2 separate regions of the Homo sapiens genome follow, and region 2 is linked to region 1. Evidence: promoter capture Hi-C in 16 types of primary human blood cells and fetal thymus (Javierre and others, 2016). All regions are on one chromosome and are shown on one strand. The core of a region is centred on a gene start or on the middle of the fragment in contact, and the rest is flanking DNA. Distances in the headings are between cores, read along the strand shown. Region 1 holds the start of KRT5 (keratin 5). Region 2 has its middle 19 kb from the start of KRT18.

What was found. Contacts are between HindIII fragments. The CHiCAGO score rates a contact against its expected background, and 5 or more counts as called.
Region 2: a contact is called between a fragment that was not itself captured here and the fragment with the promoter of KRT5 in region 1, in 6 of 17 cell types (M1 macrophages, M2 macrophages, M0 macrophages and 3 more). The highest score is 8.0, in M1 macrophages.

What each region holds. Positions count from the first base shown.
Region 1 is chr12:52,519,144-52,523,110 of GRCh38, reverse strand. It overlaps KRT5 (keratin 5), which reads left to right and starts at 2,717. Exons shown (of 9, transcript NM_000424.4): 1 at 2,717-3,369; 2 at 3,951-3,967. The coding sequence starts at 2,815. RefSeq lists enhancers at 1-810, 3,630-3,967. The HindIII fragment of the contact is 4,587 bases long and covers 1-3,855 here.
Region 2 is chr12:52,965,674-52,970,105 of GRCh38, reverse strand. No RefSeq gene overlaps it. Among named protein-coding and RNA genes, the nearest start is that of KRT18, 19 kb to the right of the region's middle. The HindIII fragment of the contact is 7,174 bases long and covers 1-4,432 here.

The DNA of each region.
Region 1 (3,967 bases), core at 1,468-3,967:
CTGTGAAGGGCTTCTCCATGTATGAAATGCTGACCAGGTCCTACATTCCCTGCACAGCTCTGCGAGAGAGGTCAGGGCAGCCAGCTTACTGTCCTTTCTCTGATGGGGAGAGCAGCAGGGCGGGCCCTGCACTGTCTTCTGCTGACAAGGAAAGCAGCACCCAGAGGAGAAGCTGAGCAACATGTCCCACCAAGCCTGGGAACTGCCTCTGTGGGGTGCCCAGCAGGAAAGCTCCCTGGTGAGCCTAACACAATCCCTCCCTTCCTGCCACAGTGAAATTCCAGGCTGGGGTGGGACTCTCCCGAGCTGCAGTGGTGCTGGTGCCTGGCTCCCCACCAGGAGCGGCTCCATTATTTATACCTGTCCAGGTCTGGCATTGAGGGAGGGGCTGCCCTGCCTGCTCATGGGAGGATTCCCACGAAGCTCGGATAGAAGAGTGCTGCTGCTTCTCCCATGGAGCACCCACATGCTCCCTGCTCCCATGGAGCACCACACACTCACCGTTGGTCCCTGGCACATGGATCTGAGCTTGGCACACTCTAGCAATCCTCAGACTAGCCAGAACGCATTCCTGCTCTGCCAAGTCCTCTTTCTTCACAACACAGCTGGGAGGAGAATGAATGGGGAGAAGAGAATGTCCCAGTGTCTCAGGAGGGGTGGGGCTTCCCTGAGGGCAGTGAGGTCTGTACCCGGGACCTGTGAGTGTATGTGGTGGTGGGGATATACCCCGATATCGATCTTTGAGTGGAGCAGGAGCATCCCACTACGAGTCCTCAGACACTTGCTTCAGGCTTGGATCTGTTCTGTTCTATCAGGAGCCGAGGGTCCCCTGGTATGTCTCAGGCCTCCAGGACACTCACATCTGTTCTCCAGAAAGCAACCAAATGTGAAAATGGTGAGCTCAGCACAATTCATCTCTGAGGGTCTCAGAAATGCTCCAGCCAGGGAGGCCACCCAAACCATTTTGCTCAAGACCTGTAAGACCGGCTCCGGCCATTGGTCTGTCTGCCGAGATTGACCTGTCAGCTGCTTGCTCATCGCAGCCCTCTGGTGAGAAGTCACTGTTTCAGCTGATCCTCAGCACCAGGGAGTCATTTTCCCACTGCCTTGGCTTCCTTGTGGCCAACCGCAGGCCCTGGTGAGAGATTCCTGAGCCTGGGTCTGGTCCTGTTCTTCTACTCTTGAGAATATAGCCCCTCCTCCCTGAGGCTTTGAAGCCATCCCCATTGCATTCCTACCTCCAGCCTCGGGCCACAGGGCGCCCCCGAAACTCTGAACAGCCCAAGCACTGTCCTGCCTGAGAGCCCTGCTTCTATTTGGGGGACGGCAGAGAGGTGGCCCCACTCAGATCTGCTGCCAAAAAGAGTGGGTGTGGTTTAGAACAGACGTGTGTTAAAACCTCATCAGAAACCCCCTTTCCTCCACCTGGTGCCACAACCCCCCAGACAAGTTTTGCAGAGGGGATCTCAAAGGGCCCTCCCTAAAGCAGCTGGCAGATTGTCATGCCAGCTGCCTGGGCCCACAGGCCTGCTCTGGCTAGCCTTTCTGGCAGGACAATCCATAGACTTAGAATCCCGTTTTCCATTGCCTTGGCCCTGAAGGAGGCTGTGGGCTACAGCATAGAGAAAGCAGAGCAAGTCCCGCTGCTTGGAACAGGGTGGTTCGCCGTTATAACAGGCCGTCAGACTCTCAACATGTTCCTGATGAGATTAGAAGCTCCTGCAGGTATGTGTTTGTGGCGGCCTTCAGCCTGTATCAACACATACGATGACTCATTTCTTCCCTAGTGGAATAGAGCTTGCTGGAACACACCTGGGGGGCTGGGGAACCGGCAGAGTAGCTACCCCCAAAGAGAGACGCTATAGCCCATGAGTCTCAGGGTTTTTTTTTAAGGGATTGCATGGGATCCCCGGGTTTCCTAAACCCCCCACAGAGTCCTGCCCAGGCCAAAGAGCAAGGAAAAGGTCAAAGGGCAGAAAAAATGCTGAGTTAGGAGGAGCTATGGAAGGATAAACCTGGCCTTAAAGAGGTCAAAGTGGTTTATAGGGGGCGCTGAGGGCTTCCCACATTCTCTGGCCTAAACCTTGCAGGCAGATCTGCCCAGTGGGCTCTGGGATAGCTGTGCCTTCCCTAAGAAAAAAATTGTGCAGAAAAGGATGAAACTCTATTTTCCCTCTAGCACATAACCAAGAATATAAGGCTACAGATTGCCTTTCCCAGAGGGGAAAACCCTGCAGCAACCTGCTGCCTGGAAAAGTGTAAGAGCAGATCACTGGGGAATCGTTTGCCCCCCGCTGATGGACAGCTTCCCCAAGCTGGAAGGGCAGGTGCTCAGCATGTACCGTACTGGGATGGTTGTCAATACTCCTGGTCCTGTAAGAGTCCCCAGGACACTGGCCATGCCAATGCCCCCTCAGTTCCTGGCATCCTTTTTGGGCTGCTCACAGCCCCCAGCCTCTATGGTGAAGACATACTTGCTAGCAGCGTCACCAACTTGCTGCCAAGAGATCAGTGCTGCAAGGCAAGGTTATTTCTAACTGAGCAGAGCCTGCCAGGAAGAAAGCGTTTGCACCCCACACCACTGTGCAGGTGTGACCGGTGAGCTCACAGCTGCCCCCCAGGCATGCCCAGCCCACTTAATCATTCACAGCTCGACAGCTCTCTCGCCCAGCCCAGTTCTGGAAGGGATAAAAAGGGGGCATCACCGTTCCTGGGTAACAGAGCCACCTTCTGCGTCCTGCTGAGCTCTGTTCTCTCCAGCACCTCCCAACCCACTAGTGCCTGGTTCTCTTGCTCCACCAGGAACAAGCCACCATGTCTCGCCAGTCAAGTGTGTCCTTCCGGAGCGGGGGCAGTCGTAGCTTCAGCACCGCCTCTGCCATCACCCCGTCTGTCTCCCGCACCAGCTTCACCTCCGTGTCCCGGTCCGGGGGTGGCGGTGGTGGTGGCTTCGGCAGGGTCAGCCTTGCGGGTGCTTGTGGAGTGGGTGGCTATGGCAGCCGGAGCCTCTACAACCTGGGGGGCTCCAAGAGGATATCCATCAGCACTAGTGGTGGCAGCTTCAGGAACCGGTTTGGTGCTGGTGCTGGAGGCGGCTATGGCTTTGGAGGTGGTGCCGGTAGTGGATTTGGTTTCGGCGGTGGAGCTGGTGGTGGCTTTGGGCTCGGTGGCGGAGCTGGCTTTGGAGGTGGCTTCGGTGGCCCTGGCTTTCCTGTCTGCCCTCCTGGAGGTATCCAAGAGGTCACTGTCAACCAGAGTCTCCTGACTCCCCTCAACCTGCAAATCGACCCCAGCATCCAGAGGGTGAGGACCGAGGAGCGCGAGCAGATCAAGACCCTCAACAATAAGTTTGCCTCCTTCATCGACAAGGTGAGCTACGATCTTTTGTAAAAAATCACTGTGGGTCTGAAATAAATGCCAAAGAGAGAGAAAGAAGGAAGATGTTTTGGCTTTGTGCAAATACTTTTATAGTTGTACAGTTCTGTGTTTCCGTTTGTTTCTGTGCCCTGGATTTGTGGACACGTTCTGAATTAGACTGGCAGCTGGGAAGGGAGAATTATTTCTTCCCATTCAGAGGTTAGCTCACAAGGGCCTCTTAACAACTGTTGGACAGAGAGATGAATTTCATGCCATATATAAAGGGGCTGACTGTACAGGAAGGTAGACAAGTGCATGGGCAGCAGCCTGAGTGCCTTTGCAGCCACCCCTGAGCCGGGACACACTCCAAGCAGCACTCCTAGTGCTTTCTGTGCCCTGGATAGGTGTCCTATCTCCCCCTGGAAAAGTGAGTTTGGGTGCCTCAGTCTGCACCTCCCCTCCTGGGGCCCAGGGCCAGGCACAGTGCACAGAAAAGCTTTAGAGGGACGGAAAGAGGTGGGAGGCACCTTAGTGAGTTGATCATAGAACATGAAATCCAAGTTTCTCTATCTTCAAACCCTGCTCCCCTCCAGGTGCGGTTCCTGGAGCA
Region 2 (4,432 bases), core at 295-2,794, 450 kb before region 1:
TTAGGGCCGAACCTGAGGGTGGGGACCTGGGTCTAAGCTGTCCCACTGGTGGGCACCTTCCCTTCCTTTCCTGAACATTTTTGGAATGTAGGAGTGACCCCAGAGGAGGATTACAAAGCCCTTCTTCAAAGGAGAGGTTGAAAGTGGTGCCCGGGTTCTATAAACATTTGCACTGAGCATTCCTAAATGACAGGGAGATTTATAGTTTGAGTGCCTTCCCATTACGAAGACTGTTTAAGTGACTTGGGAAAGTTTCTTTAAAAAGAAAAAAAAATGGAGCAGATTAAGATGAGATTTTATTTTTCTTTTTTTCCTTAAAAAGAAAAAAAGGCTAGGCGAGGTGGCTCATGTCTGTAATCCAAAGGCTAGGTGAGGTGGCTCATGTCTGTAATCCCAGAACTTTGGGAGGCCGAGGTAGGTGGATCATTTGAGGTCAGGCGTTTGAGACCAGCTTGGCCAACGTGGTGAAATCCTTGTCTCTACTAAAAATACGAAAATTAGCTGGGCGTGGTGGTGCACACCTGTAATCCCAGCTACTGGAGAGGCTGAGGCGGGAGAATCGCTTGAATCTGGGAGGTGGAGGTTGCAGTGAGCTGAGAAGCCGAGACCACGCCACTACACTCCAGCCTGGGTGACAGAGTAAGACTCCGTCTCAAAAAAAAAAAAAAAAACAAATTCTTCCTGGGCTTTCTTAAAGCTGGGGTGTGTGTGAAGCGAAGCTGAGGAAGTTCAATTGTTCTCCCACTAAGTTCTCTTTCCTGGAACAAAGAGGACCTGCAAAGAGAGTGAGAGGACTGCTGGCATCTTGAAATATTCTTCTACTCTCCTTTGTCCTCTTTTCCTTGGGTGAGGCATGCAGAGACTCCTCTTGGTTTGTTATTTGCTCATTTATTTGTTCATTCATTTGCTTATTCATTCAAAAGCTAGTAAGAGAAGATTGTTAAATTTGAAAATTTTGCTTCCCAGAATTAAACCATTTTAAATCAACCATGACAGCAGTATTTATACCTTGGATATTGGCAAATGCTATAGGTTATTAAATAAAATAAAATAACATTTTATTTACAATTTAATAAAAATTACAATTTCAAATTTTTGTCTTTAAAAAAGAAAATAACAACCTGCTGTTTATGTGTTGGAATTGTGTTATGTATCAGGGCATAAGAGTGAACAAGATAGTCCAGTCTCTGCTCAAAGGGAGCTTACAGTCTGGTGCTGCACTGTCCTGTCCAATCTGGTAGCCATTAGCTACTAGCTACTGCTGTGGTTATTAATTTATTTTTTAAAGTTTTTAATTTTGGCTGAGTCTGGTGGCTCATGCCTGTAATCCCAGCGCTTTGGGAGGCCGAGGCAGGTGGATCACCTGAGGTTAGGAGTTCGAGACCAGTCTGGCCAACATGGCGAAACCCCGTCTCTACTCCAAATCCAAAAAAAAAAAAAAAAAAAAAAAATTAGCCAGGTGTGGTGGTGGGCGCCTGTAATCCCAACTACTCGGAAGACTGAGGCAGGAGAATCACTTGAACCTGGGAGGCGGAGGTTGCAGTGAGCCGAGATTGAGCCAGTGCACTCCAGCCTGGGCAACAAGAGTGAAACTCTGTCTCAAAAAAAAAAAAGTTTTTAATTTTTGTGGGTACCCAGTATGTGTATCTATTTTAGGGTACACGAGATATTTTGATACAGGCATACAATGCATAATAATCTCATCAGGGCATCCATCACTTCAAGCATTTATCCTTTATGTTACAAACAATCCAATTATACTCTTTTAGTTATTTTTAAATGTACAATAATTTATTTTTTTTGAGACGGAGTCTTGCTCCATTGCCCAGGCTGGAGTGCAATGGCATGATCTTGGCTCACTGCAACCTCTGCCTCTCGGGTTCAAGCAATTCCCCTGCCTCAGCCTCCCGAGTAGCTGGGATTACAGGCATGCACCACCATGCCTGGCTAATTTTTGTATTTTTAGTAGAGACGGGGTTTTACCATGTTGGTCAGGCACGTCTTGAACTCCTGTCCTTGTGATCTGCCCGCCTCAGCCTTCCAAAGTGCTGGGATTACAGGCATGAGCCACTGCACCCAGCCTTAGGCTGGTGCTTTTTAAACTTTTTTTGCTTCTGGGGAGTGGGTGATAGGGAAAGTTCTGCCAGCCTGGGAGGGGCCCACTAGAGCCTGCTGCTCCAGTGTGGATTGTGGGGAGAGGAAAAGGAACTGTGTGCTTTGGGCCCAGATCACTGGAGTGCCCTGAGTCTCTGAGAAGTTTACCCTACATCCCTCCTGTGGCAGCACCATCCACTTCACCAGGATCTGACCAGGGCCTTCAGGGGGACACAGCCTCCCCGGATCTGAGCATCACTATCATTCTAATTCCTTGGGCTGTTTCTGTGTAGATAATTATTTTCCAGCTCATTCAGGCAGGTGAGGTTGAGGCCAGCAGTGCAGCTAAATCCTTACACCGTGACTGGGGCTGCTTTTATACAGGTTAGGGGAAGAATAATCACTTATGGCTGAAATCTAATGGAAGAGGGAGTTCTGTGTAACTCTAGTGGGCAGAGCTGAGTTTAGAAGGTTAGTAGGAGGCAGATTTCAGCCCAGTAGAAGGAACAATAATGTTCCAGTAATTATACAATTATTATCCAACAGGGGCTATACTGTCATAAATTCTTCAAACGGAGGCCAGATGTTAGGAAGGCCACAAAGAGGATTCCTACTGGGAGAGGCCAAACTTGAACCATCTGTTTATTTATTTTATTTTATTTATTTATTTTTTTGAGAATGGAGTTTCACTCTTGTCACCCAGGCTGGAGTGCAATGGCACAAACTTGGCTCACTGCAACCTCCGCCTCCCGGGTTCAGGTGATTCTTTTGCCTCAGCCTCCCAAGTAGCTAGGATTACAGGCATGCACCACCACGCCTGGCTAATTTTGTATTTTTAGTAGAGACGGGGTTTCTCTATGTTGGTCAGGCTGGTCTCGAACTCTTGACCTCAGGTGATCCACCCACCTCGGCCTCCCAAAGTGCTGGGATCAGAGGTGTGAGCCACCACACCGAGCTGGTAAGTATATTTTTATTTTTATTACTATTTTTTTTGAGACAGAGTCTTGCTCTGTTGCCCAAGGCTGGAGTGCAATGGCAAGATTTCAGCTCACTGCAAACTCCGCCTCCCAGGTTCAAGCAATTCTTCTGCCTCAACCTCCCAAGTAGCTGGGAATACAGGCGCATGCCACCACGCCTGGCTATTTTTTTTTTTTTTTTGTATTTTTAGTAGAGACAGGGTTTCACCATATTGGCCAGGCTGGTCTTGAACTCGTGACCTCGTGATCCGCCCGCCTCAGCCTCCCAAAGTGTTGGGATTACAGGCGTGAGCCACCGCGCTGGGAGGTGTATTTTTAAACTTAGAAAAAACGGCCCAACTGTTTTCCAAAGTAGTTGTACACGTTTTGTATTCCCACCAGCAACATATGAGGGTTTCATTGCTCTGCATTCTACTTATTTATTTATTTATCTTTGTGACAAGATCTCACTCTGTCACCCAGGCTGGAGTGCAGTGGTGCAAACATGGGTCACTGCAGCCTCAACCTCTGGGGCTCAGGCAATCCTCCCGTCTGGGCCCCTTGTGTAGCTGGGACCAAAGGCACACGCGACCACGCCAGGTGAATTTTAAAATTTTTTGTAGAGATGGAGTCTTACTTTGTTGCCCAGCCTGTTTTTCAACCCCTGGTCTCAAGCAGTCCTCCTGCCTCAGCCTCCCGAGTTGCTGGGATAACAGGTGCGCACCACCAAGGCAGGCTAATTTTTTTAAATTTTTAAATTTAATTTAATTAATTTGGTTATTTATTTTGAGACGGAATCTCGCTCTGTCGCCCAGGCTGGAGTGCAGTGGCGAGATCTCGGCTCACTGCAAGCTCCGCCTCCCGGGTTCACGCCATTCTCCTGCCTCAGCCTCCTGAGTAGCTGGGACTACAGGCGCCTACCACCACGCCCGGCTAATTTTTTATATTTTTAGTAGAGACGGGGCTTCACCGTGTTAGCCAGGATGGTCTCGATATCCTGACCTCGTGATCCGCCCACCTCGGCCTCCCAAAGTGCTGGGATTACAGGCGTGAGCCACTGCGCCCGGCCAAGGCAGGCTAATTTTTTATTATTCATATATTTATTTTGGGAGGAAGGTTGTTTTTTAATACTCAAATATTACCCCAAACGTGCACACATACACCCCTTGGTTTTTCCCCTTGAGGTTTATGATATTTAGAAAAGAACTCCCCCACCCTCTTAGGAGACGAGGGAGGTTGCAGGTGCCCCAGAACTCTCGGTGGGCTCTCCCAGGAGTCCCAGGACAAGCCGAAAACCAGGAGACTCTTGCAGTCAGGGGGCAACTGGGGAAGCGGCGGCGTGGGGCACAGGAGCGGTGCCCTGGGACCGGCGGGACGGCCCT